3 separate regions of the Homo sapiens genome follow, and regions 1 and 2 are each linked to region 3. Evidence: promoter capture Hi-C in 16 types of primary human blood cells and fetal thymus (Javierre and others, 2016). All regions are on one chromosome and are shown on one strand. The core of a region is centred on a gene start or on the middle of the fragment in contact, and the rest is flanking DNA. Distances in the headings are between cores, read along the strand shown. Region 1 overlaps LOC105376219 (a long non-coding RNA gene). Region 2 has its middle 26 kb from the start of OR2K2. Region 3 holds the start of TXNDC8 (thioredoxin domain containing 8).

Region 1 (3,271 bases), core at 348-2,847, 940 kb after region 3:
AGATAAGTCCACCAACCCCAAGAATTGACTGTTCAATTCAAAGCTTCATTCCTGGTTACAAATGCCTTTTAGAGAGAGAAAAAAAAAATAACTTTTATTTTAGGTTCAGGGGTACATGTGCAAGTTTGTTATATAAATAAACTCATGTCACAGAGGTTTTTTGTACAGATTATTTTGTCACCCAGATGCTAAGCCTAGTACCCAATAGTTATTTTTTCTGATCCTCTCCCTCCTCCCACCCTCCACCCTCAAGGTGGCCCCAGCGCCTGTTGTTCCCGTCTTTGTGTCCATGTGTTGTCATCATTTAGCTCCCACTTATAAGTAAGAACATGCAGTATTTGATTTTCTGTTCCTGTGTTAGTTTGCTAAGGATAATGGCCAAAGGAACAAAACAGAAAGCCCAGAAATAAGGACATACATCTACAACCATCTGATCTTTGACAAAGCTGATAAAAACAAGCAATGAGGAAAGGACTCCCTATTCAATAAATGGTACTGGGATAACTGGCTAGCCATATGCAGAAGATTGGACCTCTTCCTTACCCCATATACGAAAATCAACTCAAGATGGATTAAAGACTTAAATGTATAACCCAAAACTATAAAAACCCTGGAAGACAATCCAGGCAATACCATTCTGGACATAGGAACAGGCAAAGAGTTCATGACAAAGATGCCAAAAGTAATTGCAACAAAAGCAAAAATTGACAAATGGGATTTAATCAAACAAAAGAGCTTCTGCACAGCAAAAGAAACAGAGAAAACAGACAACCTACAGAATGGGAGAAAATATTTGCAAACTATGCATCTGATAAAGGTCTAGTATCCAGCATCTATCAGGAATTTAAACAAATTTATAAGAAAAAAACAAGCAACCCCATTAAAAAGTGGACAAAGGACACAAAACAGACACTTCCAAAGAAGATATAGATGTGGCCAACAAGCATATGAAAAAAAGCTCAATATCACTCATCATTAGAGAAATGCAAATCAAAACCACAAGGAGATACCATCTCACACCAGCCAGAATGGCTATTATTAACAAGTCAAAAAATAACAAATGCTGACAAGGTTGTGGAGAAAAGAGAACACTTATGCACCATTGGTGGGAGCGTAAATCAATTCAACCATTATGGAAAGCAGTGTGGTGATTCCTCAAAGAGCTAGAAACAGAACTACCATTCGATCCAGCAATCCCATTACTGGATGTATAAAAGGAAAAGAAATTGTTATATCATAAAGATGCATGTATGCATATGTTCATTGTGTCACTATTCACAATAGCAAAGACGTGGAATTAACCTAAATGTCCATCAAAGGTAGACTGGATAAAGAAAATGTGGTACATATACACCATGAAATACTAGGCAGCCATAAAAAAGAGTGAGATCATGTCCTTTGCAGGAACATGGACGGAGCCAGAGAGAAAATTTTGTCTACCAGATGGCCCCATACCCTACTGCCTCTCGGGCTGACACTGCCACATAAGGTCACTAGTGAAGCCCAGGTGGTTCGGTAACTTAGGTATGATCCAGCTTTTTTTCCTGATAAATTTATGGCAAAATGGGCCCACACTTCTATCAAAATCTTGCAACCCATCAGCATTTTTTTTTTTAAGACAGAGTCACACTCTGTTGCCCAAGCTGGAGTACAGTGGCTCAATCTCGGCTCACTGCAACCTCCGCCTCCCAGGTTCAAGTGAGCCTACTGCCTCAGCACCCCCTAGTAGCTGGGATTACAGGCACATGCCACCATGCCTGGCTAATTTTTGTATTTTTAGTAGAGACGAGGTTTCGCTATGTTGGCCGGGCTGGTCTGGAACTCCTGACCTCAGGTGATCTACACGTCTCGGCCTCCCAAAGTGCTGGGATTACAGACATGAGCCACTGCGCCCAGCCAACCCATTAGTTTTGTGATAACTGTGCTCCACTTCCAGGCATAGACCCCTTAGTTCAGGCTTTTCTACCAATGGCAACAGATGTCATCTGAAGTTTATTCACCCAAGTAGTACAGAACCCAAGGCTAAAAGATAAGCAATACGTGTAGGCAGATTGTGAGTACCTGGACATCATTAACCAATAATTTACCACTTGTGCAACTGTTGACTTTATTGGGCAAAAAATAAAAGAGGAAACACAGCCACATGCTTGGATGTGGTCCATATCATTTGGGTTCACAGATTCTTAGAACTCTCAACCAATAGCTCAGACTCAACCCTGTGCCTTACTTATTTTGACCTTATACGCACCTGCAAGCATCATTTTCCCCAGGAAACACTCAGCACAAGGATGACTGGATTCAAGGAAGTTTCAGATCTCAGCACCTACTATCTAGGATTTATTCATTCTCTCTCTCTCTCTCTCCCTCTGTCTCTCTCTCTTTCCCTCCCTCCCCTCTCCCCCATAGAGCCTGCAATCAGAATATATAATTTCTTCTCACTCTCCAGATCTACCCCCTCTTTCTAGCTTCTGTATGGCTTTTTTTTCATGAAGTATCCAAACATGTTAAAATTGAAAAAGTTTCTTTCAGAATCTGTTTTATATCAAATGAAATTAATTGTGATGAATTGTAAATACGGCAATGAGCAGATAAATTCTTATTGTCCTTAAGTCCATCCTGAGAATAGGTCCAAGAGTTTAAGATGTGATGAGACAAAACATGCTTTCAGACATGAGAATTTCAAAACTGTACAAGAAGATAATAAAAACTGTGAATGTATATTAAAGTTATATACTTTAACCACGGCAATATACATATACTCCGGCCCACTGTTCATGGTAAGAACTTGAATGAGCATTATCAGAGCTCTTCAAGGAATTGTCCCTCACATTAAAAAAAAAAATGCTGTCTCCATAACAAGAAATAAAAATTAGTACCGCCAAAAAGAGGACTTGGAACAGATGTAAGCTCTAGAAAGTTCAGAAAGTGACTACCAAGGGACATTGATTTTTTATTTTTAAAAAATGCACAAGCGTCAGAAATGTTTGGCAACATATGAATGAAAATCAGCCTGCATAACTTTAATTGGGTACTGGAAATTTTTCCATGTGTTGCCAACAAAAACAGATGGAGAGTATCATTTCAAAGAAAGAGGTAATGAAACTTCCCTTGAAGGAATTGCTTAAGAAAAATGGTAACACTTGATGGCAGAGTAAGCTTTAAGAGCACACATCATGTGACATGTAAACAGAAGAAACACAAAAGCAAAGACATAGAGTAAACTAGCTCACTTCATTCCTAATGCATATCAATCTGTTACCTGGGAGCACCA
Region 2 (2,874 bases), core at 253-2,752, 970 kb after region 3:
TCCACTGCTAACTTTGGATGCTAGCTTTTTTCCAGTTTGTTTGCCTTGACAGGTTTCAGGACACACTATCTCAAAGTAATATAAAAATGTTTCATATATAAATATTTTTGCCTTTTCATGTGACATGACTTTCCCCCAGTTGAATAAATACAGATATACATCATTTTTAATTACAGCATGATATTCTGAGAGTATGTCATAATTTTAATATTGCTTTGTATGAATCAGAACCTCATTTTAACTCAATCACCTCTTTAAAAGCCCTATTGCCAAATAATTACATTCTGAGGTACTAGGGACAAGGGCTTCAACAGATAAATTCTGGGAAGACACGATTTAGCCCATAACACCAGGTGATGCTCAAACACAGTAAAGTTGAGAACTATTATAATATGACTTAAGAAAGGTCCAGAGAGATACATGCCAAACTAATTAGAGAAATTAACTCTAGGAGTATGGCTGGGATGGGGTGGGAATGGGGTCAAAGGAGAACTCTGGTAAAGCATATCACTTTAGTGGTTTTTACAAGAATATATTGGTTCATTGCTTATGCTAGCTATTTATTTACATACTTATTTATTTAGAGACAGGCTCTTACTCTGTTGCCCAGGCTAAAGTGCAGTGGGAGTATCACGACTCACTGCAGCCTTGACCTCCTGTGCTCAGGCAATCTTCCCACCTCAGCCTCCCGAGTAGCTGGGACCACAGGTGCACGTCACTATGCCCAGCTAACTTTTTAATTATTTGTAGAGACAGGGTCTCCCTATGTCACCCAGGCTGGTCTCAAACTCCTAGGCTCAAGCAAACCTCCCACCTCAGCCTCCCAAAGTGCTGGGATTACAGGCATGAGCCACTGCACCCAGCCCACTGCTTGTACTATTTAAAAATATACCCAAAGGATTATAAATCATGCTGCTATAAAGACGCATGCACACGTATGTTTATTGTGGCACTATTCACAAAAGCAAAGATTTGGAACCAACCCAAATGTCCATCAGTGATAGACTGGATTAAGAAAATGTGGCACATATACACCATGGAATACTATGCAGCCATAAAAAAGGATGAGTGCATGTCCTTTGTAGAGACATGGATGAAGCTGGAAACCAACATTCTGAGCAAACTATCGCAAGGCCAGAAAACCAAACACCGCATGTTCTCACTCATAGGTGGGAATTGAACAATGAGAACACTTGGACACAGGGTGGGGAACATCACACACCGGGGCCTGTCATGGGGTGGGGGGAGGGGGGAGCGATAGCATTAGGAGATATACCTAATGTAAATGACGAGTTAATGGGTGCAGCACACCAACATGGCACATGTACACATATGTAACAAACCTGCACGTTGTGCACATGTACCCTAGAACTTAAAGTACAATAAAAAAAAAACAACAAAACCTGAAATAATTTTTTAAGGATAATGTACTCAGGAAATATTTGCATAAAATATGGCACAGCCCCCATTTTTATCAGTGTGTCTTGTAAATAGGAATGCTACTCTCTAGATGTAAATTTCATCCATTGCTAACTTTGGCCTACGGCTGAAAGACAACAAATACTAGAAAGGAAATTAAAATGGATTTTGATGCCATACCTAAATTCGTTTCCTCTAAGCACAGCTGGCAGGCAATCTGGTACTAGGAGTAGCCTCCTGTGGACCAGGACTGCTCAGAATAATTACTAAAGTAGGTGGTATATTCCAACTCAACTTAGCAGACACAGTGGAAATAGTTCTGACCGATGCAGGGTAGAACGGAACTAGCCCTTGACTTGTCCTGGGCACTGTGCTAATATTAATACAATGTTTAGGAATCATTCTTCCCTAACAATTGAACAATAGAGCATGAAGATAAAAGAAAATATTTTGGTTAATCTGCAGGTGCATTAGAGGCAGAAGAATGGAAGATGGGGAAAGGAGCTGGAGTCCTACTGGGAAGGGCTTCTTTGCCCAGGGAGCAGTAAAATGCATGCAGCCCCTCCACCTAGCCTGTCTCTCACTTCACCAGTCCTCTCAGAAGACCTTCCTGTGGCCTTCTGGGAGAAGCAGCCAATTGGCTTAGCTCTGCAAATAGCCCAAGAGTATGTCTTTGTTGACAAAATATACCAAACCAACACAATCATAATGCTTTTCTTTTTCTTTGGCACCTCAGTTCATTATGACGGTATTCCCACTACACCAAGTACAAGTTATAGACTAATCCTCACTGTTCTGGAGGGAGCTGAGTTTCAAGAGACTTCATTACAGGTTAGAAACAAGAGGCATTGCTGCCCTGGAATTGTTCACAGGTTAAATAAGATACCATGAGACTCAGACCCGAGGGTAGGCAATAGCATAGGAGTGAGTGTGTACAAATACAACTGGGACTTATTAGTAAGAAAACTTTTCTTCTCAGAAAGTTTCCTAAGGGGAATTTGAAGTGGATTCCAGGTGAAATTGATTTCTCCTTTTGAGTAACAATGAAATACTGAGAAGTGAGAGTAGTTGAAAGTGTTCATAAAAGGGTCCATAAAAGAGTGGCATAAAAGTGTCACTCTCGGCCGGGCGCGGTGGCTCATGCCTATAATCCCAGCACTTTGGGAGGCCAAGAGGGGAGGATCACTTGAGGTCAGGAGCTCGAGACCAGCCTGACCAACATGGAGGTTTCTCTACCAAACCTTTATCTACTAAAAACACAAAATTAGCCAGGCGTGGTGGCACGTGTCTGTAATCCCAGCTAATCAGGAGGCTGAGGCAGGAGAATCACCTGAACCCGGGAGGTGGAAGTTGTGGTGAGCTGAGATCGTGCCATTGCACTCCAGCCTGGGCAACAAGAGTGAAACTCAGTCTCAAAAACAAAAAAAGTCACTCTCAACTTTAAGAAATTTGCTT
Region 3 (3,263 bases), core at 330-2,829:
TTAGTTTCAATCAGGTGAAAGTGATGACTCAAAGAAGATGCACTCTCTTTCTTTATCAATATTCCTCTGGGAGGGAGTAACTAACTTTTCAGAGAACCTTGCCAAGCCTTTATTTCTCACTTGCTTCTGAAGTTGTAAGGTAGATGCTATCCTCACAAACTCCCAACACTCTTCACTTTCCAGTAGTTGTTGTTTGGGTGTGAGCTGGCCTAATTGGACCCATGAACTTGACTTGACTAAACTATCTGAAGGGAATACTCTCATAGTATAGGTATTTATTTAACATATGCGTATTGAGGCCTATACTATGCCAGCTACTGCACAAACTGCTAGGATACCACTGTGGACAAAAACAAAACAAAACAAAACAAAAACTAGGCATTCTGTCTCCATGGAGTTTACATTTTAGAATGGGAAGCTTACTATAAGGTCAATAGGTAATATTTGTAGTATATTAGTGCTAATTGCTAATAAAGAAAATAAAAAGAAAATGAAGTAGGAAGGAAGAATGGGGGTTGGATTACAACTGTAGTCTGGATGGCCAAGGTCAACCTCAAAGAGAAGGTGGCATCTGAATAAAGATGGGATGGAGATCAGGGCCTCTGGAAAGGTCCCTGGGGAGGAGATGAAAGGTCTTCTGAGGGAATAAGGCTCCAGGCTATTCTGTGACATCCCCAGAATATTAAAACAATAAGTGTCAAAAGCATTAGCAAATGTGTGATGTTTCAAAACATGTTCTTATGTCGAAGTTACAGGGCAGTACTCTCTTTCAATCTGGTCAGTGTCATTTTTGTGATCTGTATAGCCACCTTTGGGGAAAATGTCACAAGTCTAAATCTGAGGCTGCTGGTGGACATGAGGCTCAGGCCCCAAACCCCCTCCCCTCCTCCAGCTCTTGACTTCTTGTAATGAGGGCAGGCATCAGAAGGTCTGGGTTCTAATGCCCACACCACCTCTTAAACGAACTAGCCCTGAACCTCTCTTTTAGAGGCAATTTTCTCCTTTATAAATCAAGAATTATCTCTGTCCTATACATGAATTTAGATTTGTTGTGACAGCAACATTGGGCTGTTCCCAATTTTCCCACCCCATTCCACATCTGGGGTTTCTATTATTTTTCCTTGGATAAGAGAAAAGATGTGGACTTCCTTACTTCCATGGAATTTTCCAAGCACAACTGAGGTACGATCCATGGGATCAGATACAGGATGGGATGTACTAGGAGCTGGTCTGGGATTCACCTGAAGTCAGGCAGGAAATAAAAGTCCAGGAGGAAGAAAGCCCTTCTTTATCAATTTGACCCTTGGCTGCTTTTCTTGATAGTACCATCCCTCAAGGAACAAGATAAAGAACAAGAATTTAGAACTCTCCCCTTGCTACAATGCAATGATAGAATACTGGATAGAGAGAACACATTCTTAAAGTTTTTCAAATCTGTTCCCAAGATGTCCACATTTGAAATACTCAGTGAAGCCAAATAAATACTTGCCGTGTCTTTAATAATCTGTACCATGATTACACCAGGGAAGTGCTGATGAAAATCCCCTGTTGGTTTAGTTGGATCACTGTAGCTGTCTCCTATTTATTACAGTATCCTGCCTGGAATACATGGATAACTTCTCTATGACATCATTAAACATGTCATCTCAGAACCTGGAACTTTGGCAGACTTTGGATCCTATTTCACTTTTATGCCATGACTAGTTCATTTGTGGACAGCCAAGAATCAGAAAACTGAGGGCTTTATATGCAGAATCAGTAATGTGTTTGCTTTATTTTCATCTTTTATAACCTATTTCTAAATATCCTTCTCCCTTCTCTAATCCCTCCATCCCATCACCAAATGAGAAGTAAGCAGAGTAATATTAAATAGATGAGATTTTCACTTAAGAATTTGAAGATTTTGCTGTTGAGAAAAATACTAAAGTCTTAACCCTATAATAATGAGTTTCCTGTAAGTTTGATTTCATGAGTCATAAATTCCCTGAACTTTGTTATTTTGCTCTAATTATTTAGAGAGTAAAGAAATGTCACTTTTATGCTCTAGATCAAGGGTTGGCAAATGTTTTCTCTAAGGGAACAGATACTATTTTAGTTTTATGGGCCTCATACAGTCTTTGTTGCATGTTCCTTATGTTTTTGCAACCTTTAAAAAATGTAAAAACCATTCGCAGCTAGTAGGATGTACAAAGAACAGCAGCAGTTTGCTGACCCCTGCACTTGATGATTTGCCATTTTCAGAACTGATGTCAGAAAAATTCTGAACATGACCATGGCCAATGTTCTTCAAATCTACAGAGCAACAAGAACAACCAAAATGAGAAATAGTAGATTCTATAATAAAACAAAAATAGCAAAATCCTTCTTTCTGTTTTTCTATATATGCAGCTCTGGGCCTTCAATCATGTGTTGCATGAAAACTGTCAGATGGAGACAGTGGCTGCCTCTGTAGAGGTATTTGAAGTATGCATGTAACAAAATATCACATGTACCCCATAAATACGTAGAAGTATTATGTATTGATATGGTTTGGCTGTGTCCCCACTCAAATCTCATCTTGAATTGTAGCTCCCATAATTCCCAAGGGTTGTGGGAGGGACCGGTGGGAGATAATTGAATAATGGGGGCAGTTCTTCCATACTGTTCTCATGGTAGTGAATACATCTCATGAGATCTGATGGTTTTATAAGACGTTTCCCCATTTGCTTGGCTCTCATTCTCTCTTGCCTGCTGCCATGTAAGACGTGACTTTCACCTTCTGCCAGAATTGTGAGGCCTCCCCAGCCACATGGAACTGTGAATCTATTAAACCTCTTTTTCTTTATAAATTACCTAGACTTGGGTATGTCTTTATCAGCAACGTGAAAAGAGACTAATACACGTATTAACAAAAAAATTTTTTTTATTATAGTTTAAGTTTTAGGGTACATGTGCACAATGTGCAGGTTAGTTACAAATGTATACATGTGCCATGTTGGTGTGCTGCACCCAGTAACTCGTCATTTAACATTAGGTATATCTCCAAATGCTATCCCTCCTCCCTCCCCCCACCCCACAACAGGCCCCGGTGTGTGATGTTCCCCTTCCTGTGTCCATGTGTTCTCATTGTTCAATTCCCACCTATGAGTGAGAACATGCGGTGTTTGGTTTTTTGTCCTCGTGATAGTTTGCTGAGAATGATGCTTTCCAGCTTCATCCATGTCCCTACAAAGGACATGAACTCATCCTTTTTTATGGCTGCATAGTATTTCATGGTGTATATG

The links. The method cuts DNA at HindIII sites, captures the fragments that hold promoters and counts their contacts. A CHiCAGO score of 5 or more calls a contact.
Region 1: a contact is called between a fragment that was not itself captured here and the fragment with the promoter of TXNDC8 in region 3, in 1 of 17 cell types (endothelial precursors). The highest score is 5.2, in endothelial precursors.
Region 2: a fragment that was not itself captured here is called in contact with the fragment with the promoter of TXNDC8 in region 3 in 1 of 17 cell types (neutrophils); the score reaches 5.9 in neutrophils.

What each region holds. Positions count from the first base shown.
Region 1 is chr9:111,280,027-111,283,297 of GRCh38, forward strand. The region is part of intron 1 of LOC105376219 (a long non-coding RNA gene); the gene reads right to left. Among named protein-coding and RNA genes, the nearest start is that of MIR7702, 10 kb to the left of the region's middle. The HindIII fragment of the contact is 3,113 bases long and covers 42-3,154 here.
Region 2 is chr9:111,303,134-111,306,007 of GRCh38, forward strand. No RefSeq gene overlaps it. Among named protein-coding and RNA genes, the nearest start is that of OR2K2, 26 kb to the right of the region's middle. The HindIII fragment of the contact is 6,759 bases long and covers 1-2,874 here.
Region 3 is chr9:110,336,284-110,339,546 of GRCh38, forward strand. TXNDC8 (thioredoxin domain containing 8) reads right to left here and starts at 1,580. Exons shown (of 6, transcript NM_001424031.1): 1 at 1,490-1,580. The coding sequence starts at 1,513. LOC124902245 (a long non-coding RNA gene) reads left to right here. Exons shown (of 2, transcript XR_007061728.1): 1 at 1-1,954; 2 at 2,242-2,359. The HindIII fragment of the contact is 4,418 bases long and covers 417-3,263 here.